Linked DNA regions of Homo sapiens: region 2 is linked to region 1. Evidence: promoter capture Hi-C in human tissues and cell types (Jung and others, 2019). All regions are on one chromosome and are shown on one strand. Each heading gives the region's core, a stretch centred on a gene start or on the middle of the fragment in contact. The rest is flanking DNA. Distances are from core to core; before and after follow the strand shown.

Region 1 (5,003 bases), core at 1,814-4,313:
GAAAGGGGCATGGATTTGAGGACTGGCCCTGACGACCAGCACCACCGTCGAAATATGCGGGCCAAACCCCCAGAAGAATTGGCATAACGCCTTCCACAGCCCCCTGCTTTTAAAACTAGTATTATTATTCCCTTCAGCGCCCTGGAAATTGTTGGTGTTTATTTAGGAAGTGTGACAGAATTATTGGGTCTTCAGAAACTTGGGATGTTAAGGGGGTTTGATTTGGCTCCCAAATAGCTTGAAAAAGAAACAGCGCACCTGGGGTCAGGCGGGTCATCACAATAACAAAAAGCGCTTCTACAAAATAAAAAGCTCTTTTATAAAGAAAGGCAATCCCGGAAATCCACTGCAAGCCTTCCTGATGACCATCTAGCTAGGCCTATTCTCAGGTTTAATTGGCAGGCGGTTTATTGGCGCCTTATTGGTGTTGATTGAAATTTTGCTCCCAGTCTTTTCTTTTAAGAATTAGCATCTCAAGTCGATTTACCTGAGTCAATTATCTTTTTAGGGTCTAGGTTTGGTCATAAATTTGCAAATATTCATTAAACTCACTTTGTAAATATCCCTCTTTCCTATCGCTACCCAAATCTCTATTATTTCCTAAGAAAGTCTTTTCTTTTTTAAGGCTTCCATAAAAAGAAATTGATCAGGGAGCTATATTTGAATTAAGACATATTAAATCGATGACAGATACATATCACGCTGTGTTTAACAAGAGTTGTACAAGGAGGCGGGTTCCAGATTCCGCACGGCTCTGCTACACCATTATTCACATTTTTACAGCCTTTCCTTCATGCCTTCACCCATTAAACCATTAAATTTCAGCAATTCAATAAAACAAAGCAGTTATAATTTTGACGAAAAGCTATTTTGAAGGGGGTGGAGGTACCCATTTTATTGCACAATAAAAATGCTCAACAGTCCATATTAAAGGCTAGCTTGTGTTTATTTTCTTCTTTCTTTATTCATTTTGTTTTGTTTTGTTTTTACTTATAACCTGCAGGATTGAACCCAAAGCTGCCATTACTGCAAGAATTAATGCTTATTGCCAAGAAATTCAAATAAAGGAAACTCATTGGAAATGTTCAGAGAGGAAACGATGACAGTGATAATTCCAAATATGATGCTTTCTCCATAAACTATCCATAGAGATGGCACAGCTCTCGATCAACCTTTGCCTGGTTGGCTTGAAATGTTTTAAGTCTTTGACATAAAAATTGTGAAAGGACTCGTCGTTTCCAAAGTGAGATGAAGATTTTGTTACTGCTGTTTATTAAAATTTTTTCGTTGTGTTTCCACACATGCCTTTAATTCCCCATATTTGAACTTCATTGCAACTTAAAGAAAAAGTCCATTTGAAATTTGATGGTAGCATTGTCTTTGTTTGCTTGTCAGTTTTATAAAAGAAATGACATTCCTAAGTCTCATACCGAAGCCCCCTGTTAAACATCGTTCACACCAATGTGAATGGCACTATCGAATCAACTCTTTTCAGAATATTTCTGATTACTTCCCACGGCCATCTCCCCAATAACGGCTTTGTGCAGTCTACTTTTACTTGGACTGCAAATGAATTAAGTTGGAAACATATTTTATTGTATCCCCAAAGAAAAAGATCACATTCTAATCATTATCACTTTTTTTTTTTTTACAAGTAATGTTACGGATGACAGCAAAATACAAATTTTAAAATCCTGGCTTTAATATTTGAGCATTTTGTAACATCACAAATTTCAAAAATGCTTTCTTTTAAAATCTGAAAAGGACACTTTTGGGGCAGTAAAATCCTTAATTTGGGGGGAGGGTCCCACATTTCTCCGCCCACCAAAAAGTGATGCAGGGAATTTCTATTTTTAAAAAATCGATTTGATACCAAACCTCTGGAAAGGGATGGGATTCGCTTTTTTAAAAGCCAGTTTTTATGGTTTTCAAATAAGACATCTTAGAGGTAGACTGGTTTATGAGAAAACGATAAAAAGGTGAAAGATTATTCTATCAGTAAATAAAAAGCAAAGATATTTCTTGATTTCAAAATAATATTTTATTGGATCAGTTCTAATTGTGGATCAGTCAAAGAAACTGAGGCATACATGTGGACTGTGGACTGGGATCTGGACCGGAAGGAGAAATTCTACTTAAAGGACGGTGCTTATTTAGCGGCTTCTCTCTGCAGAGATGCCGTTTGGCCTGCCCCGCCACTGTATCTCCGAAAGGCAAAAGTTAGAATCGCTGCCCGATCTCCTCTCCCCCGCCCCTACTGTAGATCTAATTGGAAGTGGCAGATCTAGAACCGATGAGTAGTGAGATTACACTTCCATCCAACTCCTTTGAACCATGTTGAAAAGGACTCTCCATGAGATAAAAAGTCGAGGTAAAACGGTTCCTTTGGGGGAAAGACTTATTTTGACTTCACCTGGTGTTTCGCGGAGCCAAATCACTCAAGTTGTCTTGCAACCAATAGACTTTATCTTCTTCACTCCGTCTACTGTCTATGCGCCCTAGGTGAGCGCTAGGCAGGTTGGGTGTCCAAACAAGAAGTTTCTAGCATCACCACTACAGGTAGGACGGGCTATTCACCCTTCTCTCCCAAACAGCAGCCCAGGGCTCTTCCACCCCACAAGAGAGGTGGAGGTAGAGGCAGAAAGTACTTGGGTGCCAGAAGGCACACAGAGAAGTGAGGCCAAGGTTTTTGAAACTGGGACTGCCCCTCGGGGGTCCTCAGCCCCTCACCACCCCGCGCCCTCTGCCCGCGTGCCGGCGCGCGCTCCGCGAGGTGCGTCAAGGAAGAGCGGGGCGCTGCGCGCGCAGGCCAGGCTCAAACTTTCTGCAAGTGCAACTTGGGCATCCCCGGGGAGGCGGGGACGTGTGGCTCCAGCGGAGGAGGGGGCGCGAAGCGAAAGCGCAGGCGGCCGCAAGCACGGGGGCGAATCCCCGCTGGGTCGAGGGCCTGAACGGGAGCCAATCGAGCAGCCGAGGCTACTGCCAATCACGCGGCTCCCTCCAATCCCACCCGTGCCATTTCCAAAATCTCGGTCCCACTGTGCAGCTCAAATGTGGTGTTCACTCTGCCAATCGCTGGAGGATAGAGTGGGAACAGGAATAAGCAGAGTTAAGAGGCCAGGACAAAAGAAGTTAAAGAGCGCCCAATACATACATGTTTTTGAAGGCGGGCAGAGGGAATAAAGTCCCCCCAGTGAGGGTCTATGGGCCTGATTGTGTAGTTCTGATGGAGCCCCCTTTGAGCAAGAGGAACCCGCCAGCGCTGAGATTAGCGGATTTGGCAACGGCTCAGGTCCAGCCGCTTCAGAATATGACAGGCTTCCCGGCGCTGGCCGGCCCGCCCGCCCACTCCCAACTCCGGGCCGCCGTCGCGCACCTCCGCCTGCGGGACCTGGGCGCTGACCCCGGCGTGGCCACCACTCCGCTCGGACCCGAGCACATGGCCCAGGCGAGCACGCTGGGCCTCAGCCCTCCCTCCCAGGCGTTCCCGGCACACCCGGAGGCTCCGGCAGCCGCCGCCCGTGCTGCAGCCTTGGTCGCGCACCCCGGCGCGGGCAGCTACCCCTGCGGCGGGGGCAGCAGTGGCGCGCAGCCCTCCGCGCCCCCGCCCCCAGCCCCTCCTCTTCCTCCCACCCCTTCACCCCCTCCCCCTCCCCCGCCTCCTCCTCCTCCTGCCCTCTCGGGCTACACCACCACCAACAGTGGCGGCGGCGGCAGCAGCGGCAAAGGCCACAGCAGGGACTTCGTCCTCCGGAGGGACCTTTCCGCCACGGCCCCCGCGGCGGCCATGCACGGGGCCCCGCTCGGAGGGGAGCAGCGGTCCGGCACCGGCTCCCCCCAGCACCCGGCCCCGCCTCCCCACTCGGCCGGCATGTTCATCTCCGCCAGCGGCACCTACGCGGGCCCGGACGGCAGCGGCGGCCCGGCGCTCTTCCCCGCGCTGCACGACACGCCGGGGGCCCCAGGCGGCCACCCGCACCCGCTCAACGGCCAGATGCGCCTGGGGCTGGCGGCGGCAGCGGCAGCCGCGGCGGCTGAGCTGTACGGCCGCGCCGAACCGCCCTTCGCGCCGCGCTCTGGGGACGCGCACTACGGGGCGGTTGCGGCCGCAGCGGCGGCCGCCCTGCACGGCTACGGAGCCGTGAACTTAAACCTGAACCTGGCGGCTGCGGCGGCCGCAGCAGCGGCCGGGCCCGGGCCCCACCTGCAGCACCACGCGCCGCCCCCGGCGCCGCCGCCGCCGCCGGCGCCCGCGCAGCACCCGCACCAGCACCACCCCCACCTCCCAGGGGCGGCTGGGGCCTTCCTGCGCTACATGCGGCAGCCAATCAAGCAGGAGCTCATCTGCAAGTGGATCGACCCCGACGAGCTGGCCGGGCTGCCGCCGCCGCCGCCGCCGCCGCCGCCGCCGCCGCCACCGCCCCCGGCCGGCGGCGCCAAGCCCTGCTCCAAAACTTTCGGCACCATGCACGAGCTGGTGAATCACGTCACGGTGGAGCACGTGGGAGGCCCCGAGCAGAGCAGCCACGTCTGCTTCTGGGAGGACTGTCCGCGCGAGGGCAAGCCCTTCAAGGCCAAATACAAGCTCATCAACCACATCCGCGTGCACACCGGCGAGAAGCCCTTTCCCTGCCCTTTCCCCGGCTGCGGCAAGGTCTTCGCGCGCTCCGAGAACCTCAAGATCCACAAGCGTACTCATACAGGTGGGTGTCTGTCCCCGGCCGCGCCGCCGCCGCCGCCACCAGCTCCTGCGCCGCCGCCGCTTCCGCCGCTGCTTCTCCTCCTCCTCCTGCTCGCCTTAATTTTTTTCTCCTTCTGCTGCTTCTCTTCGCATACGTATAACCCGGACATGTGACTTCTTTTTTTTTCTCTCCCCCCCTTTTTTTTTTCTATGAATAAGTAATTCGATAGCACACACAGGCCCCGCGTTGGGTTCCCACACGGCGGAGTCTCCAGCGCGCCCGCAGCCCCTCGGCCGGGACCCGCAACGCGCGCCAGCCGCC
Region 2 (5,476 bases), core at 459-2,958, 600 kb before region 1:
AGAGTCATTCTCAAATCTCACTAATTAAGAGATTATATTTGGCAAAGTATTACAAAATAATAACTGAATTCACAATGCATTTTGCAATGCAAGATCCATTCATTATATGCATTTCATTCCTGAGCATCTCATTCCTGTTTGACCATTAGTAGTAGTAACTAGTAGTGCCATGTTTGCTTTTGCCATCAGTTTTATGCTAGATTGGATCGGTCGATGAATAGTTGATTACATGAGAACAAACTGGATGTCAGCAGAGAGTAATTTGTTTGAATGCCCTTTAACTGTAGCAAACACCATTGTAGTGTTTGTTTGTTTGTTTAGACAGGGTCTCACTATGTCACCCAGGCTGGAGTGCAATGGCATAGTCACAGCTCACAGCAGCCTCGACCTCCTGGGCTCAAGTGATCCTCCTGCCTCAGCCTCCCAAGTAGCTGGGACCACAGTTGTGCACCACCTACATCCTGCTAACTTAAATTTTTTGTAGAGATGGAGCCTTGCTATGTTGCCTGGGCTGATCCCATCATAGTTTTTTTAATGGGCTGCTCCAGTGTGTCTGAAGCAGTAGTCAAAGTTTGCATTTGAATACCTTTTTCCTTATTAAAACATGGTGAGCTCAAAGAAGAAAACAAGTCGAAATTTGTGAAACAAAAATCATGCATCTATCTCTTTGTCTGATTTAGGAACAGTAGTCTCTGATCACTATTGGTTGAAAGTCTGGAGTTGACTCCTAGATTAGTTACTAAAATGCCACTGTTAATGTTTGTCATCTCTCACTCCTCCCCTACGATGAAACTGGGAAAGTCTCTGGGTACACAGGTCATTGCTAATGGAGGTCCTTCTGTAAATTCAAACCTCACCCGTTAACTGCTATGGTATAGGCTCTCAGTTGGTGGTAGTATTTAAAAGACACAGAACGAAGATTCCTGTCATCTACTTGGAAGAACGTTAGCATATAGGTTTTATTTTGTGACTGGAATCTCCCTGTTTTTCCTTCTGAAAAGTTGCTGGAGGGTTCGACCTATTGGCAGACCTTCCTTTCTAATATAGGGACATCACAAAGGAAAAACTGAGCTGACAAAGGAAGACTGAGGACAGACATCAGATGGGCTCTTGAGGTTGCTGTGGCTGAAACCTCAGAGGCCAAGTGTAGGGAAGATTTGGTTTCAAGTGTTAAATTGGATAGATTTCTGTCTCTTTTTTTTTTAATACACATAAGTATGATTTATATATTATATGATATTCTGGAGGAAGCAGTTCTGTTAATTTCTTTTTATTAGTTCAGCTTTTATTTTAGATACAGGAGGTACCTGTGCAGGTTTTTTACAGAGCATATTGTACCCAGGTAGTGAACATAGTACTCAGTGGGTCATTTTCAACCCCTGCCTCCCTCCGTTCTCTGCTCTAGTATCTTCACTGGCTCTTGCTCCCAGGTTTATGTCCATGTGTGCTCAGTGTTTAGCTCCCATTTATAAGTGAGAACGTGGTATTTGGTTTTCTTTCTTTTTTGAGATGGGGTCTCGCTCTGTTGCCCATGCTGGAGTGCAGTGGTGCAATCTCAGCTCACTGCAACCTCTGCCTCCCAGGTTCAATCGATTCTTCTGCCTCAGCCTCTTGAGTAGCTAGAACTACAGGTGTGCACCACCACACCCAGCTAATTTTTGTATTTTTAGTAGAGACAGGGTTTTGCCATGTTGTCCAGGCTGGTCTCAAACTCCTGACATCAAGTGATTCCACCGGCCTCAGCCTCCCAAAAAGTGCTGGGATTACAGGTATGAGCCACCACGCCCGGCCAGGTTTTCTGCTCCCGTGTTAATTCAGTTAAGCTTATGGCTTCCAGCTGTATCCATGTTGCTGCAAAGGACATGATTTCTTTCTGTTTTATGACTGTAGTAGTCCATGGTGTATATGTGCCACATTTTTTGTCCAATCCATTGTTGATGGACACCTATGTTGGTTCCATGTCTTTGCTGTTGTGAATAGTACAGCAATGAACATATGAGTGCATGTGTCTTTTTGGTAGAATGATCTATTTTCCTTTGGATGTGTACCCAGTAATGGGATTGCTAGGTAGGTCTGTTTTAAGTTCTCTGAAAACTCCAAACTGCTTTCCACAGTAGCTGAACTAATTGACATTTCCACAGTGTATAATCATTCCCTTTTCTCCACAGCCTCGCCAGCATGTTTTTTTTTTTTTTTTGACTTTTTGATAATGCCATCTTGACAGGTGTGAGATGGTATCTCATTGTGGTTTTGATTTTCATTTCTCTGATTAGTGAAGATGAGCTTTTTTGGGTATGTTTGTTGGCCACTTGTGTGTCTTCTTTTCAGAAGTGTCTGTTCATGTCCTTTGCCCATTTTTAATGGGTTTATTTGTTTTTTGCTTGTTGATCCTGTGTTCGAGTAGTTTTTGTTTTAAAACTAACATATTAGGCCAAGCACAGTGGCCCTCACCTGTAATCCTAGCATTTTAGGAGGCTGAGGCGTGTGGATTGCTTGAGCCCAGGAGTTTGAGACCAGCCTAGGAAACATACTGAGACCCCATCTCTCAAAACAAACAAATAAAGAACCTAACATATTAATTGACCATTACATCTGTTGGGATTGGAATAAATCAGAAATAGTAAAGGATTAGTAAGGGTGTTACATCCATTGGACTCAAGTCTTTGTTTTGTTTAAAAAGTTATATATGGGTCTCTTTTAAACTTCTGGCTTATTGAGATTGTTTCAATGAAGTCACATATATGCACATATATGCACATATTTCATGGGATGGGGGAAGGGGTAATGGAAGAGTATTGGGCCTTAGTCCAGGGTGTTTAGAATACCAGACTAATATAGCTGCTGCCCCCTGGTGGCAGTGTAGTAAACAGTGACGTTCAAAGGTAAGGACTTGTGGAGAGCTAAGTCCAGTGGACTGTGGGTGTCAAGAGGATTGTAGAGGAAACTGGGAAGATGCCGCTTCTCTCCCACTCTTCTTGTGATTGCTACCTATATGGTCTTAGAAAAATCTTTTAGTTGGATTGAAGTGTAGATTTCATATTCAACTTTAAAATGTACTTTCTAAACTTTTTCCAGCCTTAATACCCTATGCTTCTCCAAGGGTATTAATAAAAGATGCCATTATATAGCAAAAGATGTCAAGTTCTATTTTTTTCCTTTAGCAGCTGTATCCTAAGAAACCCCAGATATTCGTTCAGGAAAGCAAGTTCTAGAGTACACCCTGAAGCTAGATACAGCTACAGCTCTGGGCAGCAAAATGCATAAATGTACCTGCAGCACAGTTCATCATTAATCAGTTTGAGGACTCTGCATTCTTATGAAAAGCTTACATCATCTGAAAAATGTTTTTTATCCTGGTGTGGTGGTGCACGCCTGTAGTCCCAGCTACTCTGGAGGCTGAGGCAGGAGGATACCTTGAGGCAAGGAGTTTGAGGCTGCAGTGCACTATGATCACACCTGTGAATAGCCACTGCACCCCAGCCTGGGCAACATAGCAAGACCCTGTCTACAAAAATAAATAAATGTTTTAAACATTAACACATAAATTTTACCATCTTAACCATTTTTAAGTGTACAGTTCAGTAGTATTAAGTATATTCACATTGTTGTGCAACCAACCTTGAGAACATTTTCATCTTTTAAAACTAAAATTCTATATCCATTAAACAACTCCCCATTTTCCCCGTCCCCCAGCTCCTGGTAATCACCATTCTGTTTCCTGTCTGTATGAATTTGACTACTCTAGGTATGTCATAAAAGTGGAATCTTACAGCATTTGTCTTTTTGTGGACTGGCTTATTTTGCTTCGCATAGTGTTCTCAAGGCTTATCCTTGTTGTAGGATGGGTCAGAATTTCCTTCCTTTCAGTCTTTTCAAGGCTCTGTAATATTCCATTGTGTGTATACCCCACATTTTGTTTATTCCTTCCTCTGTCAGTGGACACTTGGGTTGCGTCCAACCCTTGGCTGATGCTGGGAACGTGCATGAGCTATGTCATTTTTAGTATACTGTGCAGACCAATGCAGAGAAGGGCTTATACAGGTTTTTCCTGCACACAAAAGGTTAAATTTCATAATAAAGAACACCAGTCAACCATACCAGATAACTAGTGTATGGCTTTTTGTATGTTTGAGTAAGTTAAAAAAGGTTAAGACTTATTGGATACAAGATATATGCAAGGCATTATTATATCTGTGATATATTCTATTTAGTCCTTGTAGTTCTGTGATTTATCCTTCTCTCAGAGGGAGTAAGAATTATTGAGATCATGTGTGGGCCAGAATGTATATATACATACATTATCTCCATACATCAATGTTTGAGGTGGGCATTATTATCCCCATTTGTAGGGAATTGGAACTGAGGTTCACAGAGATGAAACACCCTGAACAAGGTCACACAGCTGAAACACGGCAGGGTTTTACATGACTTTGAAATGAAGTACATCTAGTTGTAAAGTGTGTCCTCTGGGCCGCGTGCAGTGGCTCATGCCTATAATCCTAGCACTTGGGGAGGCTGAAGTGGCAGGATTGCTTGAGGCTAGAAGCTTGAAACCAGCCTGGCCAAATGAGACCCCGTCTCTACAAAAATTAAAATTAAAACTAAAAAAAGAAAGTATGTTCTCTGTCTACACCACACTTTCTTCTGCTGCACAGCATACACATCTGTGTTCTGAAGGATATTAGAGCAATATCAAAGAATGGCACTTCTATATGATCATTAGAAAAACTGTAATATCTTTGCATTAAATACAGTCTTTTCAATTTTCCTTGCGAAGACACAGCATCAGTTTGGATGAGTTCATCTGAAATGTATTGCCAAGGCTTGCCTGCTGGGGGATTTTGCAAAATAAATCTCCCTACTTACAAAAGTGTGCTTCTCATGTGCCAGTTCCCATGTATCTGAGGTTATCCTCCTCGACACTGTTATCTTCCCTTTTTTCCCTTCTTTCCTTTGGATTGGCAGAGAGCTAGGACTGTTGTCACTGCTCTCTGCTTCCCTGTCTCTTTAATGCCATGGTGTTTTGGGCTGGAGCTTTGATCCATTCTGGCACTGTGTTTTCACACAGCTCAAGGGCTATAAACTGTCCTCATAGGGGGTCGTTTTCTTGGAGACTGAGCAATCTCTCGGGGAGGCCAATCACAACATTTTCTTACATATGGAATTATTAGATGAGCAAATAAGTAGCGATACATCATCTGAGCAGGCATTTAAGCCTAAGATTCCACGTTTTTGGGTATCCTTATAGCAGCACCCCAGTCTCTGTGGTACAAATTTACTGTATTAGTCTTTTCTCATACTGCTAATAAAGACATACCTGAGACTGGGTAATTTATAAAGGAAAGAGGTTTAATTGACTCATGTTCAGAATGGATGATGAGGCCTCAGGAAGCTTATAATCATGGCAGAAGGAGACATTCCTTGGGATTTTATAAACCTAGAGGATGGGTAAGGACCCAGACTGCTTCCAGAGATT

Evidence for each region. Contacts are between HindIII fragments. The study calls those that stand out against the background at their distance.
Region 2: a fragment that was not itself captured here is called in contact with the fragment with the promoter of ZIC5 in region 1 in 1 of the 25 tissues and cell types used here (H1 embryonic stem cells).

The regions. Positions count from the first base shown.
Region 1 is chr13:99,969,827-99,974,829 of GRCh38, reverse strand. ZIC5 (Zic family zinc finger 5) reads left to right here and starts at 3,063. Exons shown (of 2, transcript NM_033132.5): 1 at 3,063-4,703. The coding sequence starts at 3,227. RefSeq lists enhancers at 1-73, 74-616. The HindIII fragment of the contact is 23,774 bases long and covers 1-5,003 here.
Region 2 is chr13:100,570,606-100,576,081 of GRCh38, reverse strand. The region is part of intron 2 of GGACT (gamma-glutamylamine cyclotransferase); the gene reads left to right. Among named protein-coding and RNA genes, the nearest start is that of GGACT, 15 kb to the left of the region's middle. The HindIII fragment of the contact is 4,454 bases long and covers 1-3,935 here.